Regions from separate parts of the Homo sapiens genome. Here region 2 is linked to region 1. Evidence: promoter capture Hi-C in 16 types of primary human blood cells and fetal thymus (Javierre and others, 2016). All regions are on one chromosome and are shown on one strand. The core of a region is centred on a gene start or on the middle of the fragment in contact, and the rest is flanking DNA. Distances in the headings are between cores, read along the strand shown.

Evidence for each region. The method cuts DNA at HindIII sites, captures the fragments that hold promoters and counts their contacts. A CHiCAGO score of 5 or more calls a contact.
Region 2: a fragment that was not itself captured here is called in contact with the fragment with the promoter of ALG14-AS1 in region 1 in 3 of 17 cell types (endothelial precursors, activated CD4 T cells and fetal thymus); the score reaches 5.5 in endothelial precursors.

What each region holds. Positions count from the first base shown.
Region 1 is chr1:95,060,087-95,066,834 of GRCh38, forward strand. It overlaps ALG14-AS1 (ALG14 antisense RNA 1), which reads left to right and starts at 1,510. Exons shown (of 2, transcript NR_132786.1): 1 at 1,510-2,103. ALG14 (ALG14 UDP-N-acetylglucosaminyltransferase subunit) reads right to left here. Exons shown (of 4, transcript NM_144988.4): 2 at 4,780-4,931. The HindIII fragment of the contact is 7,319 bases long and covers 1-1,654 here.
Region 2 is chr1:94,908,159-94,914,937 of GRCh38, forward strand. All of the region lies in intron 1 of CNN3 (calponin 3), which reads right to left. Among named protein-coding and RNA genes, the nearest start is that of CNN3-DT, 15 kb to the right of the region's middle. RefSeq lists enhancers at 2,266-3,202, 2,401-3,600. The HindIII fragment of the contact is 1,164 bases long and covers 2,162-3,325 here.

The DNA.
Region 1 (6,748 bases), core at 260-2,759:
TGTCTTTCTGTCCTTCACCACCCTCCTATACATACACACACAAACACACACACACACACACACACACACACACACACACACACACACACACGTGGTGGTACCCAGTGGTGGCCAGCAGAAATGTTCACGCTATCTCCCTCAACAGCTCATTTGCATCTCTGCAGAGCTCTTCCCAGCTTCAGATTCATGAGTAGAGGCTCTTTTAGGAATGGAGCAGAATTTTCTCTCTAACAGTGGCTGCATTGCCCCAGTAGGCGACTGTTAGTAAAAGGAAGTTGAACAGAGATGCTTAGTCCTACATTGCACTTCGAAAATACAAAATAATGGCACTATAAAAATCCAAAATCTGGCTGGGCACAGTGGCTCACGCCTGTAATCCCAGCACTTTGGAAGGCTGAGGTGGGCAGATCACGAGGTCAGGAGATCGAGACCATCCTGGCCAACATGGTGAAACCCTGTCTCTATTAAAAAAAAAAAAAAATAGCCAGACATGATAGTAGGCACCTGTACTCCCAGCTACTCAGGAGGCTGAGGCAGGAGAATCGCTTGAACCTGGGAGGTGGAGACTACAGTGAGCTGAGATCACACGACTGCACTCCAGCCTGGGTGACAAAGTGAGACTCTGTTTAAAAAAAAAACAACAAATAAATAAAAATAAAAATCCAAAATATTTTTATAGTTAAGACTATTAATGTGAAGCAAACCCAACTTACTTGGTTCTAAGTGTTGTGATGCACAGTATATAACTACTGTCCCCCTAAAATTCATGTCCACCTGGAATCTATGAATGTGACCTTATTTAGAAATAAGAGCACTGCAGATATGATCAAGTTAAGATGAGGTCCTTCTGAATTAGAGTGGGCCCTAAATCCAACCGGTATCCTCATAAAAAAGGCATGTGAAGACAGAGATACAGAAAAGGTCATATGATGGTGGAAGCCGAGATTAGAGTGACGTAGCTGCAAGCTAAGGAAGGCCAAGCATTGCTGGCCACCACTAGAAGCCAGGAGGAAGCAAGGAGGGATTCTTCTTCAGAACCTCCGGAGGGAGTATGGCCCCATGACACCTTGATTTCAGACTTCTACCCTTCAGAGCTATGAGAAAATACATTTCTGTTATTTTAAGCCACCCAGTTTATGGGTGGCAAAAACCCAGTTTTGTTACAGCAACCCTAAGAAACTAATACAGTATTGATTCCTAAAACAAAAACGAAATCACTTTGGCTTATTTTCCACAGAGGAAAAAAAGTACCACACATTTTGCTATAGCTGAATGATAGCAAGCAGATTTATATACCAATCTTGTTTGACGTGGATTTTTTGAGAATACATTTTAGTAGTATGTTAGTTGGGGATAAGGTTTACAAATGACCAAAAGTTAACACAAACAGCCTTGAGAGAGAGAGAGAGAGAGAGTGTGCGTATGTCACAAAGGTGGGAACAAAGGGAGTGGGGTAGGGTTCTAGGAGTGGGTCCTGATTTCCCAAGAAAAGAACCACCAATCCAGGACCAACACAGCTATAGCAGGGCCTCTTGAGCCACTGAAGGCAGCACCAGACACTGGCTTCTCCTCTCTTCCTGTACATTATCTTCATTCTTCTATCTATAGACTACCTTTATCTTCTAAGTGAAAACATGACTGTCAGCAGCTTTCAAGCTTTATCATTTACAGAGCTTGCCTGAAGACAGACTGATTCCATTCTCTAGGTCTCCAAGCCCAGAAAGCTCAGAGAAAGACTTCGATTGGTCTGAGTTAGGCCAGCTGTCCACCCCTGAACTATCCAGAGCAGCCCTGCAGCTGGGCCGTTCCCAGAGAGAGGGATGGATAAAGGCACTCACTCTACATAAGGAACAGCTCTAGTTTCCTTCCTTAATTAAGAAGTAGTTTCACTTAAAAAAAAAAATCTCTAAACACTGACTAAAATGCTATAATGAAGTGAGCAACCAGGGGTAAAGAAGTACTAATAATTTCAAAGGCAGACACAAGTATGATTTGGAGAAGAAACAGCAGTCATAGATAAATCAAATTATCAATAAACGTAACACATTGATAGAGAGCTTTAATGAAGAGCCAATAAGCACATGAACAGGATGCTTCGTGTATGTAAGTAAAAATAAAATAATTTTCACTATTGGAATTCAACGAAAAACTGCTTTCTCTATTTAAAAGAATAAAAAATATGCAAAAAATTAAGCAACCATTTTTTTTCCTTCAACTTTTAAGTTCCAGGGTATGTGTGCAGGATGTGCAGGTTTATTACACAGGTAAACGTGTGCCATGGTGGTTTGCTGCACAAATTAATCCATTACCTAGGTATTAAGTCCAGCATCCACTAACTATTCTTCCTGATGCTCTACCTCCCCCAACCCCTCCCTTCAACAGGCCCCAATGTGTGTTGTTCCCCCATATGTACCCATGTATTCTCATTGTTCAGCTCCTACTTATAAGTGAAAACGTGTAGTATTTAGTTTTCTGTTCCTGCATTAGTTTGCTGAGGATAACGGCTTCTGGCTCCATCCATATCCCTGCAAAGGACATGATCTTGTTCCTTTTTATTGCTGCATAGTATTTCATAGTGTATATGTACCACATTTTCTTTATCCATTCTATCATTGATGGGCATTTGGGTTGATTCCATGTCTTTGCTATTGTGAATAGTGCTGCAGTGAACATATGTGTGCATGTATCTTTACAACAGAATGATTTACATTCCTTTGGGTATATACCCAGCAATGGGATTGCTAGGTCAAGTGGTATTTCTGCCTCTAGATTTCTGAGGAATCGCCACACTATCTTCCACAATGGTTGAACTAATTTACATTCCCACCAATACTGTAAAAGCATTCCTTTTTCTCCACAACCTCACCAACATCTGTTGTTTCTGGACTTTTTAATAATCGCCATTCTGAGTGGTGTGAGATGGTATCTCATTGTGGTTTTGATTTGCGTTTCTCTAATGATCAGTGATGTTGAGCTTTCTTTCATATGTTTGTTGGCTGCATGAATGTCTTCTTTTGAGAAGTGTCTGTTCATGTCCTTTGCCCACTTTTTAATAACAGTTTTTTTCTTGTAAATTTGTTTAAGTTCCTTGTAGACTCTGTATATTAGACCTTTGTCAGATGGACATATTGCAAAAATTTTCTCCAATCCTGTAGGTTGTCTGTTCACTCTGATGAGTTTCTTTTGCTGTGCACAAGCTCTTTAGTTTAATTAGATCACATTTTTCAATTTTTACTTTTGTTGCAATTGCTTTTGGCATTTTCATCATAAAATCTTTGCCCATGCTGGTGTCCTGAATACTACTGCTTAGATTTTCTTCTAGGGTTTTTATAATTTTGGGTTTTACATTTATGTCTTTAATCCACCTTGAGTTAGTTTCTGTATAAAGTGTAAGGAAGGAATCCAGCTTCAATTTTCTGCATATGGCTAGCCAGTTCAACTCCTTGCAAAATAGAAAATTCTTTCCCCATTGTTCGTTTTTGTCAGGTTTGTAGATCAGATGGTTGTAAATGTGTGGTCTTATTTCTGAGTTCTCTATTCTGTTCCATTGGTCTGTATCTGTTTTTGTACAAGTATCACGCTGTTTTGGTTACTGTAGCCTTGTAGTATAGTTTGAAGTCAGGTAGCATGATGCCTCCAGCTTTGTTCTTTTTGCTTAGGATTGTCTTGGCTATTTGGGCTCCTTTTTGGTTCCATATGAATTTTAAAATAGTTTCTTATAATTCTGTGAAGAATGTAAATGGTGGTTTAATGGGAATAGCATTGAATCTATAAATTACTTTGGGCAGTATAGCCATTTCACAATATTGATTCTTCCTATCCATGAGCATGGAATGTATTTCCATTTGTTTGTGTCCTCTCTGATTTCACTGAGCAGTGGTTTGTAGCTCTCCTTGAAGAGGTCCTTCACTTCCCTTGTTAGCTATATTCCTAGGTATTTTATTCTTTTTGCAGTGATTGTGAATGGGAGTTCATTCATGATTTGGGTTTCGGCTTGCCTGTTGTTGGTGTATAGGAATGCTAGTGATTCTGCACATTGATTTTGTTTCCTGAGACTTGGCTAAAGTTGCTTATCAGCTTAAGAAGTTTTTGGGCTGAGACAATGGGATTTTCTAGATATAGGATCATGTCATCTGCAAGCAAGGATAATTTGACTTCCTCTCTCCCTATCTGAATACACTTCATTTCTTTCTCTTTCCTGATTGCCCTGGCCAGAACTTCCAATACTATGTTGAATAGGAGTGGTGAGAGAGGGCATCTTTGTCTCGTGCTAATTTTCAAGGGGAATGCTTCCAGCTTTTGTCCATTCAGTATGATATTGGCTCTGGGTTTGTCATATATGGCTCTTATTATTTTGAGGTATGTTCCTTCAATACCTAGATTATTGACAGTTTTTAACACGAAAGGATGTTGAATTTTATCAAAGGCCTTTTCTGTGTCTATTGAGATAATTACGTCGTTTTTGTCTTTAGTTCTGTTTATGTGATGAATTACATTTATTGATTTGCGTATGTTGAATCAACCTTGCATCCCGGGTATGAAGCCAACTTGATCATGGTGGATAAACTTTTTGATGTGCTAAGCAACCATTTTTTAATTTGAAGATTTATTTTATAGAAATTCATATCTTTTGGTAGCAAAGGAAATGTATTTCATCACCAGCAAACATTTGACTGCCCATTGTGGGTAGGGCACTGAAGTGCCATGAGATTATTACTAGAGACAATTAAACTCAATGTGCAACTTGTAATTTTCTTAGAAATAGAAATTGTCACTTACCATGTTACTAGGGTCTCTATCAGCTCGATCTAGTTCAAAAGAATTTATTTTATTGGCACTCATTTCATCAGTGTCAGCAATGACATAATGTCTAGGTGAGTAGGCATTGGACAAGCTCCCAAGCAGCCTCAGGATCTCAGTGGTATGCCCACCTGGAAAAAATATCAGAAGTCCTAAGATTAAGAAACCCACAATGGACATATCCATTTGACCATGTTATACCAATATCATGGTTTCAGGTTGGGGGTGGGGGGGCACTGTAATTGTATATTTCTCAGAAGACACAAGGAACATTTGAAAACAATAAATCTATGCCCTCGTATAAATACAACTTTTATATCAAAAGCAGATAATACATGTATAAAAATAAAATCAGCACTAGCAGTAGGTACTAAGGAAGGCACAAAACAGTATAAGACATAGCTCTTGCTATCAAGAAGACTGGTGAGAAAGGGGCAAGACACATATATGAAGACAAAGAAGATGCAAGACAGTAAGAAAAACTAAAATGTGAAGGGTAAGCAAATGGTTATGAAAAATCAATGCCTTAAAAATAAGGAAGAACCCCGGAAAAGGCTGAGATGACTTGAAAGGTGAAGATAATGGAGAGATAGGAGTAGGGAGGCCACTGGGTGGAGATGGGGATTGTTAGGGCATGAGATGACAAGATCTGAAACATGTGTTCAAAGAGTGATAGCAATACTGGGAAGAAGGGTACAGGTGAAATAAGGCACGAAAGCAGGATGGGAAAAGGGAAGCCAGTCACTGAAGGTTCTATGTAGAGAAGTAAGGTGAAGGGGGCATGAGCGCTGATCAGCAGGGCTTGGGCCTTCCTAAGAAACATCTTTTGTTCACCACTGTAACCCCAGCTCCTATGAGAGGTCTCAGCACACTGCAGGTCCTCAAATATTTATCAGCTTCACCAAATGAGTAATGTTCAGTTTCTGAAATAATATAATCTCCAAAATTTTAATACATTAATTTTGAAAGCATAAATTTAAAAATCAACTATGTTCATTGAGACAATGAAAACATTGTTTATGAAAACAACAATAGAATATCTACCTATCTATAAACGATTTAAGCACAACAGTCAAACTCCTTATCAAGGAGCCCTATCACACCCATTTCAGTCTCGTTTCACAAGCTCTCTGCCTCAGTCAGGTTGATGTCTTCAACATTCTCTGCATTCACCTTATTCGTTACTCACTCCTTGCCTCTGGTCATGCTGCTCCCCCTACCTACAAGGCTTCCTCCACCCCACCTCCCTTATTGTTGTAAGAAAGAGTATATAGTGATACAAGAACACAAACAAAGATAAATTAAACATGAGTTTTCCCCCAACACAAATTCCCTCCACCCCCTCACCTCCCCCCAGGTGGAGTTTCACGCTTGTTGCCCAGGCTGGAATACAATTGTGTGATCTCGGCTCATTGCAACCTCCACCTCCCAGGTTCAGGCGACTCTCCTGCCTCAGCCTCCCGAGTAGCTGCAATTACATGCGTGTGCCACCACGCCCGGCTAATTTTTGTATTTTTAGTAGAGACAGAGTTTCACCACATTAGTCAGACTGGTCTTGAACTCCTGACCTCAGGTGATCCACCCACTCGGCCTCCCAAAGTACTGGGATTACAGGCGTGAGCCACCATGCCAAGCCCACATTTTTTTTTAATAGTAGAAAGGAAAGGATTTCGTTCTAGATCCCAGAAGGAATTATATATAGAAACAAATTTGGCATAGATTTAGTGTGAATTTCAGGAATTAAAATCATACATTAGCTTTATAACCTGTCACCCATCTTCTTGACTGGGGCATATAATTTACACATCTGGTTTATACTCATTTTAGTATCTTTGGTTTAGCCTCGAAAAAAAACAAAAAAGTTAGGCCAGGTGCGGTGGCTCATGCCTGTAATCCCAGCTATTCAGGAGGCTGAGGCAGGAGAATCACCTGAGACTGCACTCCAGCC
Region 2 (6,779 bases), core at 1,494-3,993, 150 kb before region 1:
CGAAACTCTCCAACATCCCTCTAGCCAGATACAATCAACATGTGAAGATAATGAAGACCAAGAAAAAAGCCTCCTAGGGCATAGGATACAGCTGATCCTCCTCCCTACATTCAGCGATTGGCCTGCTCTGCTCTCGCTCCTCCGACAGCTTCACCTGCTCCTCTTCATGTTCCTGTGCCTGGGTCCAGGGCTCATCCTGTTGTGGTCGTGGTGGCGGCTTCAGCCCTTAGAGCTTCCCTTGGCTCTCTCCTCAGGACAGCTAAGAGCACCAGTGTGGAGTCACCCTTCAGTTCAAATGCAGATCAGTCCTTTCTTGTTTCATGACCTTTCTTTAGCCCTCACTTTCTTTTGTAATTCTAAAATAATAATTGGTTTTTTGTTGTTGTTTGTTTGTTTTTTTGAGACGGAGTCTCGCTCTGTCACCCAAGCTGGAGTGCCATAGCGTGATCTTGGCCCACTGCAACCTCCACCTCCCGGGTTCAAGCGATTCTCCTGCCTCAACCTCCTGAGTAGTTGGGATTACAGGTGCCCACCACCACACCCAGCTAATTTTTGTATTTTTAGTAGAGATGGGGTTTCGCCATGTTGGTCAGGCTGGTCTTGAACTCCTGACTTCAGGTGATCCGCCCACCTCAGCCTCCCAAAGTGCTGGGATTACGCCCAGCCAATTCCAAAATAATAATTTTTTTAAAAAAATTAGGCTGGGCCAGGCATGGTGGCTCAGGCCTGTAATCCTGCAACTTTGGGAGGCTGAGGCAGGAGGAATCCTTGAGCCCAGGAGTTCGAGACCAGCCAGGGCAATATAGGGAGCCCGTCTCTTTAAAAAAAAAAAAAAAAAAATAGGCCAGGTGGGTGGCTCATGCCTGTAATCCTAGCACTTTGGGAGGCCAAGGCAGGAGGATTGCTTGAAGCCAGGAGTTCCAGGTTGCAGTGACTGATAATCATGTCACTGCACTACAGCCTGGGTGGCAAAGTGAGACTCTGTCTTTAAAACAAAAATAAACAAATAAATGATATACAAGTATGTAGCGCATGCATTCTCAACAGGGGTGGTGGTGTCCCAAAGAGGTGAAAAGTGTTTCTTGTGGTGGTTTCTACCAATGGTGAAAAAAATCTTAAGACAATACAAAAACTTGGGACCCTCCAAAGCTCAACTCTACCCAACAAAATCTTATTCCTTTGTACTAAATCTAGCAAGGGATAGGAGGTAACTAGGAACAATGTCTAAAACAACTCTTGGAGAAGGTGATCATGAAAACAAGGTTAAGAAACACTGAGATAACACTAAAATGTACAAGTCTCTCCCCCCACAAATCACACTCCATTCCCAGAGGGAAGGGCCTATCCTTCAGCCAATTATTCTTCCAGCCCACAGGCACACATATCACATATCACTATTAATCATATATCCAAGAGCTCTGGACTAAGACCACCTTCAGAAACACAACCCCGAGGGCCTATGTGTCCTAACAGTGAAGGCAGACACTAGAGCAGATACAAGCCTACCAGCTGCTGGGAAACAGCCATGCCCCTCCCTGGCTCTGAAATTTGAGAAGCTTCCCCCTAAGAACCCTCAGAAAGGGAGAAAGAGTAAAGGGAGACCTAGCTTCAAAAAGCACCTCCACAGCTGACCCAAAAGCTCGATTCCTGCGCTGTTGAATGGTACTTCTCGGTGTACGCCGAGAGCATTCAGCTCAAGTACCATTTGAAAAAAAGATGGGGGCACATCTGCCATGAGGTAGAGTGATGACATTCATGTACAAGAACTGTCTGATGCCCCCATTACACCCAGGACATTCCAGAATCTACTGAAGAATGAAGACTGCTTGTTTTTCACATGGATTCCTTCTCACAATGTATTATCATCACAGAGCTTGTTCAAACCTGGAAGCAGACAATTCCTGGTTATTGTCCCCAGTGATTACAACAGTCTCCCTAATTTCAGCTGTGGCTCCCCGTTTTGAGCCACCAGGATAATCCTGCATTACTCCAAACTCTCTAAGTAAACTCGTATTCAACATTAGCTTCTGTTTTTCAAGTGTTCCGTGTGTTCCTTAGATTCTTCTTTCATCTTCTTTCTCCATTAATCCTTCTTTCTGTCCTTCATCTAAATGGCTAGTTCATATCAGGCACAGTTCAAAGGCAAAGTCTCTGTCCTAAAAGCTTACATTCTAGCAGAAAGAGACAAATATTAAATACGGTGTATTAAAGAGTTCACAAAAATATATATAAAATAGGGTGTTTAAAATAAAGAGAGAACAATGGGGGCTAACATGGTCCCAAAATAGGAACCAAATAGATTTCCATCTCAAGTATCAAGATTCCTCCTCTCCTTCCTTCTCACTATCACTTGCTATTCTTGGTATCTCATGCAAGGACAATGAACAGGTTTCAACATTTTCATCTACCCTGTCTCTCCGCAATGAATCCTATAAACATTTACTGAAGATCACACGCTTTCAAGTCAAACTTCAAAACCCTGTGTTCCCAAGTTCCAGTGTGACCTTGGCAAGTAACTGAACCCAGGTCACCCCATTTCTTGTGGGTAGACTCCTTCCTTCCAGGGCCACTGTGAGGATGAAGCCTGTTCAATAGGAATGGAACCCACCGCAATACCTGACACACAACAGCATGCACGCCCTCCAATTTTATCAGCTCCAGGTACAGAGCATTCTATTAACCAAACCCCACTGCAACTTGTTCAATCCATTGTTTGCAATAGCAAAGAAAACCCCACTGCAGACAGGCTCACCTGGGATGCCAGCCTTCACCACTGTCCACTCCCTTTACCACTCTTCCTGAGGCTGGTTCCTGCCTCTCTGTCTTTGCTAAAGCTCTTCTCTCTGCTTAGAATGTGTTTGCATCCCGAATTCTTATTCTTTTTCAGATTGTTGCTGACAAAAAGGACAAAGGAACTATTTTACAAAATCAGGCATGTATCTTATGGGGGGTGGGAGTGGGAATTCTAGAGAAAAACATTTTACATTTGGGACAGTGATGTCAAGATAGAATGCATGCTTTTCTTGAGGTCACCACAGAATCTAAGACTCATTCCATGGCACGAACGTGCTAAAGATTTGATGCGGAGGAACTAGACATTTAAAAGCTGTGGAAAATCATGCTCGCCTCAGGTAAACAGAAGTAAAGTCCAGGAGCATTTTAAAGCCAGGTCCTCCTCTCAGAGGTACAACTGTGTCTTCAGATCAAGGTATCAGCATATGGCACCAACCAGCACAAATTTTTCCCCTCCAAATGTCTATAATCAGGTAAATACAAAAACATTATGACTCAATATACAAATATTGTGAGACTGACAAGAAATTAAAGCTTCAAAAATTACTAGGACGGGTGCAGTGGCTCACACCAGCAATTTGGGAGGCCAACACTGGAGGATCACTTGAGTCCTTTGAGACTAGCCTGGGCAACATAGTGAGACCCTGTCTCTACAAAACCCACAAAAATTAGCTGGGCATGATGGCACACACCTGTGGTTCCAGCAACTTGGGAGGCTGAGGTGGGAGGATCACTTGAGCCTGGGAGGTCAAGGCTGCAGTGAGCAGAGACTGTGCTACTACACTCCAGCCTGAGTAACAGAGGGAGACCCTGTCTCAAAAAAAATATAAATAAGCCAGGCACAGTGGCTCATGCCTGTAGTAATCCCAGCACTTTGGGAGGCCGAGGCAGATGGATCACCTGAGGTCAGGAGTTTGAGCTCAACTTCGCTAACATGGTGAAACCCTGTTTCTACTACAAAAAAATTAGCTGGGCGTGGTGGCACACATCTGTAGCGCCTGTAATCCCAGCTACTGAGGCAGGAGAATCGCTTGAGCCTGGGAGGCGGAGGTTGCAGTGAGCCAAGATCATGCCATTGCACTCCAGCTTGGGCAACAAGAGTGAAATTCCATCTCAAAAAAAAAAATTTTATATATATGATTAAAGAGGAGCTGGTCCAGTGCCTAAAGCAAAGAGTATAACAAACGGTAGAAAGATGCAGAGCTAACAGAATGTCAATTTTGTCTTCTCTGTCTAGAAAATGACCTTTAGACTGCAAAGCTTAGAACACATATAGTTTATAGTGGATTTTTGAAAGTTCAAATCTAAACAAGGAGCGAACAAGTATAGACACTGGATTCCCAGAAGAATCTAGACTCAGAAATAACAAGTAACAAAAAAGTGGGTATCAAGCAGCTCACTGTGAGAGAAGCCTTGGCAAACGGTAGTAACTAGAACCTAGAGAGAAGCCTGCTCCCACTCCATCCCCACCCAGAGGGCAAGGATCTATTACTGGCTGAAGAGCCCGGCAGGCGCCCTCCTAGAGTGGACTCTTGGGGAGAGAGTGTGCAAGCAAGCACTCAGGGAGAAGGGCAGCCATCACCAAGGCTGCATGGACACACAAGGCATGTCCAAGAACACCTGCCCATGTCCCCTCCTTGAGGGGAGGTCAGGCTCCTGTTCATCTTAGTAATCCTCATGCCCATGCCTGATACATAGTGGGCACTCAATCCATGATTTTTCACCCACTGACAGGATTACCAGCCTAGGGAAATGCCTCAGATTTAAAGATCTATCTTGTTTCGGAAAGGCATCTGCATTTGAATGTCACTGCCTTTTATGGGCGTCACATCTCCTTGATCTGCCAATCTGGTAATCTTAGATGGCCCACTAGGGATATAATTGCATTACTTTCTCATAAAAGTTCCTTATGTCTAGCGCACTCCTGAAGTCCAGTTTAGTAACCCTAGAAGGAGGGTACAGTCAGAAGGAACACCATGCCCACTGTGCTGATTATGTCATGGCAGAGGAAACTCGTGGTGATGTGTACCTCAATGTTTGGATTTAGATGTGTTCTCTTCTGTTTTGGTCATTAATGACTTGGAAACTACTTGGCATACTTATTAAGGAAACTGGGAATCAGAAGGATCTTTCTTACGTTAATACACAGTTTATTCAAAATATATGTCAAATCCTGCCCCAAAGTTTTAGAACTAGTAACACTTACTCAGTGAGTTGAGTAAGTTAAAAAGCCAACACTATCTTGGTCTGCATAGTTATACAATTCTTCATAAAATAGTATTGCTTATTTGTTTAAATCAAAACAGCCCCATGAGGTAACCAAGGAAAGCATTATTTATAAGAAACGGGTGCGCATGGAGTTCATGTGAGCCATAAAACCTCCCAGAGTGATCATCACCATACTTTATAGACTGGAGAAGTCAATTTGACAAAGCAAGGATTAGAATCCTTCTTCTACACAGAGTTACCTTGTCTACCTGGCCAAGTGATTCTGTTGGTTAAAACAGGAGGAGCTAAAGCTTTGTAATCAAAGGAAGTCAGTTACCAATCCCAGTGTACTCTGGTAGGTTAAACCACATCTGTGGCAATACTATGATCAATTCTGAGTGATGCATTCTGAAGGGACACTGATAAGCTGACATCAGTTTCTAGAAGGAGTAAACTAGGTGGGGAAGGGATTAGAAAAACCATATATAGCCTATTATGAGAAACTGGCTAGCCAGGAGTGGCTACATATGACCTGGAAGTTTAGGAGAGGCAGGTTAGCTCCCATCTAAATATTTAGATGGAAGTCATATAGAAGAGAGAGTTGATTTATTCTGAGTGACACACAGAGGACAGGCCAGGGAAATATATGGAGAAATTCCTGAGAGATGGACTAGAAGCAAACAGGCATGGAAAAATATCATGTTTTGAGTGCCAATGAAGCACAGGCAGGAAGAGATGACCTCCAAGAAAGCTTGTTGGAGAACATTCTCTCACTGGGAAGAAGGCCAGCCGGGTCTTGAATTTTAGAGATCTGTAGAGATTTTGCTGAAAGGAGATCTTAGCTGAAGCCCCACAGGTAAAAAGAGGTGAAAATAGAGATGTTCCTCAAGTTTTTGTTTTCTTTGTCTCACCACTAGAATATTTAAGAGTCTAACAAACTCATTCCCGCATTTGTAGGTATCAGCTCTTTGCCACTCTCCAGATTGTCAAGCACTGTCTCTTCAGCAGGACCTCTAGGTGCCTCCAAAATAACCCTTGAGTCAGGAGCATGGGTAACACTGAAGAACTGTCATTTATCTTTCCATAACGACAAGGCACATGACCTGTTTGCAACTTTTCTGTAGTTTCAGAATGTACACTCACTCCTCATCAACTCTTCAGCAAGCCCGCTCCATAGGACAAGCCTCAGTCTACTGTGACTCAAGGAAGGCATGAAATCCACCTCAACGTCATTGTCCCAAAAGTTCGCTGTATTGTTCTGAAGGAACTTGTCTCAACCAGCCTGGGGAACCCTCATCTCACAGATCACTGACCACCCGCATCCCCATGCTCCCATCTGCCAACCCCAAAACTGAGTCGAAACACCACGCGGCTCCTTTACTGAAGGTTATTATTGGGACAAGGCATGAAAGTGGGCCAAGGAGAAATGGGATCTCAGCCCTTTGGGTCAGCCTTAGTAAATCTGGAACTCCTCTTGGAGTCTAGATCCAGGTCTAGATCTCAGATTGCAAATGCTTTTTTGCTTACTACAATGGAGTCTGTCCATTTGAGAAAGGTGGCTTTACACAACCAGCTATGAACAGAGAGGAAATCGAATTTTAAACATGGGATAGATGCTGATGGAATCTTACAGATATGTTAACTGTGCAAAAGAGCACCATTTTTTCCCCAATGAAAATGAGAAAATATGACATTTCCATTACAAAGTAGGATAGAATTTCCCATTTTCTCTCTTTTTTTTTTCAAGACAGTCTTGCTCTGTCACCCAGGCTGGAGTG